2 separate regions of the Homo sapiens genome follow, and region 2 is linked to region 1. The links are contacts of gene promoters, found by promoter capture Hi-C in blood cells and fetal thymus (Javierre and others, 2016). All regions are on one chromosome and are shown on one strand. Each heading gives the region's core, a stretch centred on a gene start or on the middle of the fragment in contact. The rest is flanking DNA. Distances are from core to core; before and after follow the strand shown.

The links. Contacts are between HindIII fragments. The CHiCAGO score rates a contact against its expected background, and 5 or more counts as called.
Region 2: a contact is called between a fragment that was not itself captured here and the fragment with the promoter of NCF4-AS1 in region 1, in 1 of 17 cell types (endothelial precursors). The highest score is 5.4, in endothelial precursors.

Annotation. Positions count from the first base shown.
Region 1 is chr22:36,868,437-36,872,896 of GRCh38, forward strand. It overlaps NCF4-AS1 (NCF4 antisense RNA 1), which reads right to left and starts at 2,007. Exons shown (of 2, transcript NR_147197.1): 1 at 1,657-2,007. NCF4 (neutrophil cytosolic factor 4) reads left to right here. Exons shown (of 10, transcript NM_000631.5): 5 at 1,979-2,106; 6 at 3,216-3,273; 7 at 3,891-3,989. RefSeq lists an enhancer at 3,357-3,895. The HindIII fragment of the contact is 14,249 bases long and covers 1,506-4,460 here.
Region 2 is chr22:36,777,038-36,780,949 of GRCh38, forward strand. No RefSeq gene overlaps it. Among named protein-coding and RNA genes, the nearest start is that of IFT27, 2.9 kb to the left of the region's middle. RefSeq lists an enhancer at 1-474. The HindIII fragment of the contact is 3,486 bases long and covers 82-3,567 here.

The DNA of each region.
Region 1 (4,460 bases), core at 757-3,256:
ACCTGCTTCCAGAATGTGAGAGATCTTGACTCCTGATGGAGGGAAGGAGCAGATGGAGGGCAGAGGAGGTGGGAGGAAGGAGGAGAGAGCAGGTAGCTGCAGGAATCCTGGGCTCTGAGCAGGGAAGAGGGAGGGAGGGGAGCTGGGTGGGCTCCAGCTGCTCCTTCAGGGTGGCTGAGGCTCCACCCTTCTCCCCCTGGGCTAGAATAGGGGAGTGGGCTGTGAAGGGAGGGAGGGAGGGAAGGAGGAAGAGAAGGCAGGAGGCGAGGCTGGGGAACTGGGGCTCCTCATTCCACACCTGGTCTTAGCAACCAGCAGCCCAGAGGATCCATCTCTGCCTCTTTGTGTCCAATTGGGTTCCTGGAAGCCAGAGATCATTCAGGGCAGGAATCTCTGCCATGGCCACCCCATCCTGTGCTTGCATACCCTCAGAGATGGGGAGCTCACTACCACTCCGCCCTGACCCAGGCTGCCTGTCCCATTGTTGGGCAGCTATGAGAAAAGCCCAACTCTCTGTAAGTCCTACCCACTGGTCTCACCCCGCCCTCATGAAGAATGTGAATCACATGATAATGACAACTGCCTGGAACTGCGTGAAGAGCTTTGACTGGCAACCAGGAGACTCTTGATACACGTTTATTGATAAATGAATAATCTTATTTAATCCCCTCAATAACTTGTGAGTTAAGTGTGACAGAGCAGTTAGGTAGGTGGGATGAGATTTGAATTCACATCTCTGTGACTCCAGGGTTTGAGCTCTTACCCACTGTGCCTCGTTGTAATGAAAATCACAGTAACAATGATGACATCTAACTTTGATGGGCACCTGGTATATGCCTGGTGTTGTTCTAAGGATTCTGCATGTATTTACTCATTTAATTCTCACACAATCCCACGAGGGAGAGGCTATTATTGTCCCCATTTTATTAATGACCATCTGGAGCCAGGTTTGCCCAAAGCCACCCAGCTGGTGACAGGCAGAGCTGGGATTCGATCCCAGGAGCCCCTGGCTCCTTAAACACCTCCCAGGCTGTCCCCATATGACAGCCTTTTCCGGGCTCTGCATCCCCAGTTCCTCTCGGACAAAGTTCCCCGACCCCACCTCATCCTGCTGCCCCCATGGGATCCTCTGCAGGGCTCTGGGTGCCTCTGGAGCCTCAGCACCCAAAGCCAACCCTCAGTGTCCCCAGACCTGTGCGCTTGGAGTTTGGTGAGATGACCCCGCCAGGCTCTGGGTGCTCGCGTCCTCACAGCTTCAAAGTCTTTGCATCGTGGTGGGTGTAACCAGCTTGGATGAAACAAGGACACTAGGGCTCAAGTCCGGGCCCTGTCACTTAGCTCGGCTCCTCTGGGCCAGGTACTTTCCCTCTCCAAGCATCAGTTTCCTCAACTATGATATGAGATAAAGTATCAGGAAGCATTTTGTAGGCTATAATGCCACCAACTGTTGTTAATTTGGGTTATTTTGGGAGCCCCCCACCCCCGCCAACTGTTGTCTCACCTTAAGCTTTGGGTAGCCTTTAGTGGCAGATGGCTCTGGGTGCCCCAGCTCTGTCCCTTGCTAGGCTTTGTGGCCTTGAGCATATCCCTTCACCTCTCTGATCCTAACTCAAGGGATGTCATGAGATGGAGCAAGGGCGCGCATGTGATACCCACCTGGTAAAGTCACCGCCGGGTCATGTTAGTTGTCATCACCATTACTGCTGTTTCTGGAGAACTTTAAGTCTTTTCCAAATGGACTCTTCTCAAGCCCCTGGTCCCTCTCCTGACCTTGGACCCAGGAGCAGAGCTTGTGAAGTGTTACCTTCAGCATGCTGAGTTTTCTTATTCTTTTAAACAACGCATTTCTGTTATCAGGCATCATGCATTAGTAAAGAGAGGAGGGCTGATGTCAGGGCTCGGGGACGGGACATCTAGGCTGGGGTGTCCAGATCTTTCTGCTGACTACCCCACCGGTTCTGCTGTCTCACCCACACAGAGCCTGCTCAGCCTGCCGGTCTGGGTGCTGATGGATGAGGACGTCCGGATCTTCTTTTACCAGTCGCCCTATGACTCAGAGCAGGTGCCCCAGGCACTCCGCCGGCTCCGCCCGCGCACCCGGAAAGTGTAAGTGACCAGCCCCTGGGCTTCCACATGGCCAGAGCCCTGGGTCCCTGCTGGAAAAGCATCTCTTTTCCCTGAAAGGAGAGAAGGAAAATACAGATCAGCCATATCCCTGGACACTCCAGGATGATTTGATTTATTAGATGGGTTTAGAAAGTCATGTTCAGGCTTGGAGGGACAGAGGGTGTGTGCCTTTCAATGTGATAATAAGGATTGGAAGACGAGGACTGGGATATTGACTCCAGAGAGTTTGGTGCCACAGCAACTACTGGGGATAGCCCAGAAGCTCTGGGTGCCTGGAAAGAATTGGGGGCAGAGAGGAGGGAAAAGCTGCCCCATCCACAAACATTCTCTGAGCATCTCTGGGAATGCCTTCTCCCTGGTGTGTTGGAGCTCCATGGGGCCAGCTATGGCTCTAGTTGTATCATGCTGGCCTCCAGAGCACACTGTTCCTCCCTTATTCCAAAAAGCCCATCCTTCCCACCAAAAATTCAAGCCACTCGTAGACTGCTGGGCTTCCAAAGCCCAGGTTGCTGCTACTAAGAATTCTGGGAAAAGCAGGACGGAGCTCCTGAGCTCCCCACCAGCTCCTCCCTCTGCTTCCTCCCACCAATGTCTCCAAGGGTCCTCTCCATGCCTGGCATCTCCCCTGTGCACACAGGCAGGTGTGTCTTAATTCCAGCTGTGCCATGTGGCAGCCGCAGGCCCCAGAGCAAGGCACTTCACCTCTCCAACCTTCAGTTTCCCTCAGCTGAAAAATTAGAAACAGTCACATTTACATCAGAGCTTGGTTGTAGGGAGCAGAGGAACAAACACATCTGAACACTTTGGCAAGTGAAAGGCACCGAATGAGCGTGTATCCCCTTCCCCACCTGCTTTCTGAGCCTGGCTTCCTGGTCCATAAAGAAGGGAGAACAATCCCACCTCCAAAGAGGTTGTGAGGATTTGGGGACAAGTGTGCCCGCCCAGAGGAGCAATTGCAGCCACATTTCAGCATCTTCTGTCTCCTCTGCCTTCCCTGCTCCTTGCAAGGGGCTCCTCTGGACACAGGAGCAGGAAGCTGGGCCCTGAGAGAATCACAGGGCTAACAAGCCCCTCTTCTCTCTCCACAGCAAGAGCGTGTCCCCACAGGGCAACAGCGTTGACCGCATGGCAGCTCCGAGAGCAGAGGTAACCCCCGCCCCCACGCTGGCCAGGCTCTCACACTGTGGGCATCTGCCTTGGCCCACCTGCCAGCCACTGGGCCTCTCCTGCTGGGTGCTGCTGTGTGCCTGGGACAGTGCTGGGCACCAGGAGGAAGGAAGGGGTTACAGCCTCAGCCTCTGCCACTGGGGGTCCCCCGAGCCCAGCTAAGGGGAGGGCATGTGACCAGCGTGCGGAGCCAGAGGAGAATGCTTCCATCCCTACGCTCATCCGGACAGTTTACCTGGGCCTCCTCTGAGTCAGCCCTGCCTTAGGCATGGAAGCTGCAGAGATGACTCAGACAAGGCCCAGCCCACGATGAAGCCTGGGGACCAGGGTGGGTGCTCAGCCCAGAGAGTTCGAACCCTTCCCTGTGTGCTCACCCCCACCAGGTTTGGAAGGAGCACCCATCCTGGAGTCAGGGAGACCTGGGTTCAATTCCCAGCTCCTCCACTAAAAAATGGGGTGGCCTCAGAGAAGTCGCTTATTCTCCCCAAGCCTCAGTTTCTACATCTGTAAAATGGGAGACTAAAGTATGTAAGGCACTTCTATAGGAACTCAGTGAGTGTTCTCTCCTTCCCTCCTTACTGCACGCTTCTCCTCAGGCTCTATTTGACTTCACTGGAAACAGCAAACTGGAGCTGAATTTCAAAGCTGGAGATGTGATCTTCCTCCTCAGTCGGATCAACAAAGACTGGCTGGAGGTGAGTTCAGAAGTGAGGATGGAGGTGAGATTGAAGGTGAGGTTGGAGGGAAATTAAAAGTGAAGATAGAGGTGAGGGTGGAAGTGCAATTGGAGGTGAGGATGAAGGTGAGGGTGGAGGTGAGATTGGAGGTGAGGATGGAGGTAAGAGTGGAGGTGAGGATGGAGGTGAGATTGGAGGTGAGGATGAAGGTGAGATTGGAGGTGAGGGTGGAGGTAAGAGTGGAGATGAGATTGGAGGTGAGGATGGAGGTGAGATTGGAGGTAAGGTTGGAGGTGAGATTGGAGGTGAGGTTGGAGGTGAGATTGGAGATGAGATTGGAGGTGAGGATGGAGGTGAGGGTGGAGATGAGGGTGAAGGTGAGGATGGAGATTGAGGGTGGAGATGAGGGTGAAGGTGAGGATGGAGGTAAGGGTGGACGTGAGGATGGGGGTGAGACTGGCAGTAAGGTTGGAGGTGAGGATGGAGGTG
Region 2 (3,912 bases), core at 575-3,074, 92 kb before region 1:
TGGAGATGGAAGGAGAGAAACGTATGAGTGCCTGGGAGATAGTAGGTGCACACGTGATTGTGGGGTGGATGGGAGAGCGGAAGCTTATCTGGACAGATTTGGTTTATCATCACTGTCACTGGTTGGCCGAATGTACCCCTTGTTCTCACTTTCTCAGGGCCCCTGGGATTCTGATGGCTGATGCTGAAGGGAAGAGCAGCCCCTCAGCAAAGGTGCCTGTGCGAAAGTTCCACATTCCCTCCAGACACCTAGAACATTCCACCTCTCCGCCACTCTGCATCTCAGAGTGGCTGCCAGCCTTGTGTGGGGGAATAAACACACACACTCTATGAATGGCTGATGGTTTCAGCCCCGAATCCAGAGTAAATGCAAGTTGTCTGAGATGTTCTTTCCTTGGGATTCATTCCTGGCGCTACGGTAAAGGTCTGTTTCTCCTTCATTTCTCGTAACTGCTTTTCTTCTTTGGTGACATCACGTGAGTCTGTCTCAGACATCCAGGTCTGAGTGAGCAAAAAGCCTCTTTCTGGTCTTCTGCCTTCCTCTTGCCGGCTCCCCTCCAGGCCAACCTGTTCACCATGAGTGACCCTGTTAATCCCTTAAAGGACCCCATTTGGTGAGTCACCCTCCCGAGGCAGCTCCACGTAGCTAAGACACAGACACACATCAGGGCAGCCTCCGAAGCCTTGGTTCCTTCATTTTGCGAGGTGGGTAATGACAGAGCCGGAGCATAGCCATCTTGGACAAGCACTGCCATTTTAAAGTTCTCCTTGATCAAAAACGGCCTAAATTCAACCCAAAGGGCATCAGCCTAATGGCTAATGTCAGAATGACCATAAACCACAAGTGACATCTCCAATCAGAAACATTCCAACCCTAAGATAAACCCACCCCCCGACCAGAGACATGCAGCCCCAAGATAACCTCCCCTCTGGTCAGAGAGATGTCAGCCCCAACATAACCCACCCTCAGACCGGAGACATTCCAACCCCACAGTAAACTTCTCCTCCACACAGAAACATTCCAAGCCTGTGGTAAGCTCTCTTGCCCTAAACCCTTAAATACTCTTAGTCTGTAAGAGAGAGCACTCCTGACTGAAATTGGCCAGAAGCCCCTCTCAGGTTTATGCTCCAAAATAAACCTGTATTTAACTGTTGAGCCACTTTTCATGTTTCTTGCCTCTTTCTTTAACTCTTGCAGGTAATAATCACACCTCCCTCCCAGGGCTGTTCTCTGTTCCCCACCCACTGTCTCCCTTTTGTTGCTGCTACTCTGTGTGATTTTAGTCAGCATTATCATAAGAGCATTGTAGAACTTTCTAGAGAGATGGTAAACACTTGTATGGTGAATTCTGTCCCCCTTCACCTCATGGACCCAAGGGCCTTCTATACATTTCTGTGACTGAAGGTAAGCTGAATGAGAGTCACTAGGTTTAAGGTGGTCAGAGAATTTTGGAGCCATGGGGGCTCCTGAGCAATTCGAGTTATCCCATTTCTGAGCAGCTCTAATAGTCACAGCTGGCCTATGTTGACCACAGACTTAAGGCTGGCCTTGTTCTAAGTGATTTTAGGGATTAATTAGTTTAATTTCACATTTACATTTGATATTCACAATAACCATGTATCATCCCCATTTGATAGATGGGGAAACTAGGGCCCAAATGAGATTAAGTGAAACACCGAAGGTCACCTAGCTAGTGAGTAGCAGAGATGGATTTGAACTCCTTCTCACCCTTCCTAAAGAGCAAATACTTATTGAGTTCCTTGCCGTAATAACTTGCGTTGATTGAGCATTAGATGTGAGGCATCTGCTAAGCACTTCACATCCTCTCTCCTGTATGAAACCATGACCCTGGGAAGTGGAAACTCTCATTCATTTGAAGAAAGGAAAGAGCCACAGAGAGGCCAAGGTCATGCAACAAGTCAGCCAGATCCAGAACCAGCCTCAGATCTCTTGACTCTGGGGACCAATGTTTGTTTCTTTGTTTTCCCCCATTATCCAGCATAGTCTCTCCATTTTCATTAATTAGCTTTTCTTGAGTGCCTACCATCAGCCAGGCATGGTGTTGGTTGCTGGATCCACTGAAGGGTGGGGATGACAGAGCCCCAGGCTTTACCTCTGGGTGAGATATCACGGCAATGTGGGAATACGGGCCCAGGGTTGCACACTTTTCTAGAGGAGCCAGGAATCTGGATTTTTGTGTGAAATCCCCTGACCTGTTAGTGTTGGCAATGAACTTAAATTTAAAACACTGTAGCTGCAGTAGAAACCTCTGTTGACCGGTTCAACCTGGGGGCTGCTCATCTACGATCTTTGGTAAAGAAAGGAAGACCAACATGTGGACAAGTCACTGTGCCACAGGTGGATATGGGACTCCCTATGTACACCTCGAGGAGCATTCCTAACCCTGGGTGGATGGAGAGGGAGTCGGGAAGGATATTCTGAAAGGAGAGCCTTGTAGGAATTTGCGAGGTGGACACAGGGGAAGGCAAATGCTGGGTGGATGGGTCAGCACATGCAAAGGCTCAGAGCTCTGGGAGGGCAGCAGATGGAACACACGGTGGAATGGCAAGACCCAGAGTAGAACCCTTGTTTGAGGAATTAATTCAACAAATATTCTGTTGAGTGCTTGCTAAGCACTAGGACGTAGAGGTGGACAGAACCATCTAGCCCAGTGGAGCGGCAGATGATCAAGCAGTAATGATCTATGATTGCATGTAGTCAATGTTGAATAGGGGAGGATGTGGTGCAGAAAGAACAAATACCCTATGCTCTGATCCCTGGACTGGCACACCAGCATCACCTGGGGATTAGTAAGAAATGCATTTTCCCAGGCCCCACCCCTGACCAGCTGAACACTGGAGGTGGAGCCCACAATCTGCTTCCATAAGGCCTCCTGGTGACTCCGACACAAGCTCATGTTGAGAACTGCTTTTCTTAGCTAATGCCAGGACCCACCTTTATCTACTCTATTGGGTCATTTTACTGTTTTTCAAGCTCCTCGGGAACGTTCCCACCGCAGGGCCTTTGTACGCACTGTTCCCAATGAGGCTGTATGACTCTCCTTCATGATCTTCAGATCTCAGCTCAAACGTCATGCCTTCGGGGAGCCCTCCCAAACACACAATTTAAGCATCGCCCCCAATCTGTCAGTCTCAATATCCTTGACTTACTTTACTTTCTTCATAGCGTTCACTACTACCAGAGATTACACAGTCTGTCCCTCTGTATCCGTGGGGGATTGGTAACCATGGATATCAAAATCCAGGGCTACTCAAGTCCCCTATATAAAATGTTGTAATATTTGCACAAAACCTACACACGTCCTCCTGTATACTTTAAGTCACCTCTAGATTACTTTCAATAACTAATACAATGGAAATGCTATAGAAATATTGGTATACTGTATTTTATCTGTATTATTTTTATTGTTGTATTGTTATTTTTTTATTTTTGCAATGTGCAGTTAGTTGAATCCAGAGATGTGGAACCCGTGGATGCAGAGGGCCACCTATATTCCATATTTATTAGTTTATTTATATGGTATCTGTCGCCCTCCACTAGAAGGTAAGCTTCATGAGAACTGACACTTGGTCTCTTTTGTTCACCCAGTATCTAGGACAGTCCCCTGCATGGTGAGGCACCCCGTAAATACTTCTGAATGAATGAATGACTCTCATAGGGTTTACCCTTCCGGTTGTGTATTCATTCATTCAACAAGCACCAACTCTTGAATATCAGTTTTTGGGCAAGCAATGGGCTTACTACTGAGAGATGTGCAATGACCATTCAGATGGGGTAACCTCATCCTGGGTCCTCTCCCACCCCTAGCCTGCACCCCTAGCTACACCCATATGCTCTGTGGAAGAGGAAGTATTAACAGTGCTGCTTCCCAAAGCCAGGGACTAGACTGTT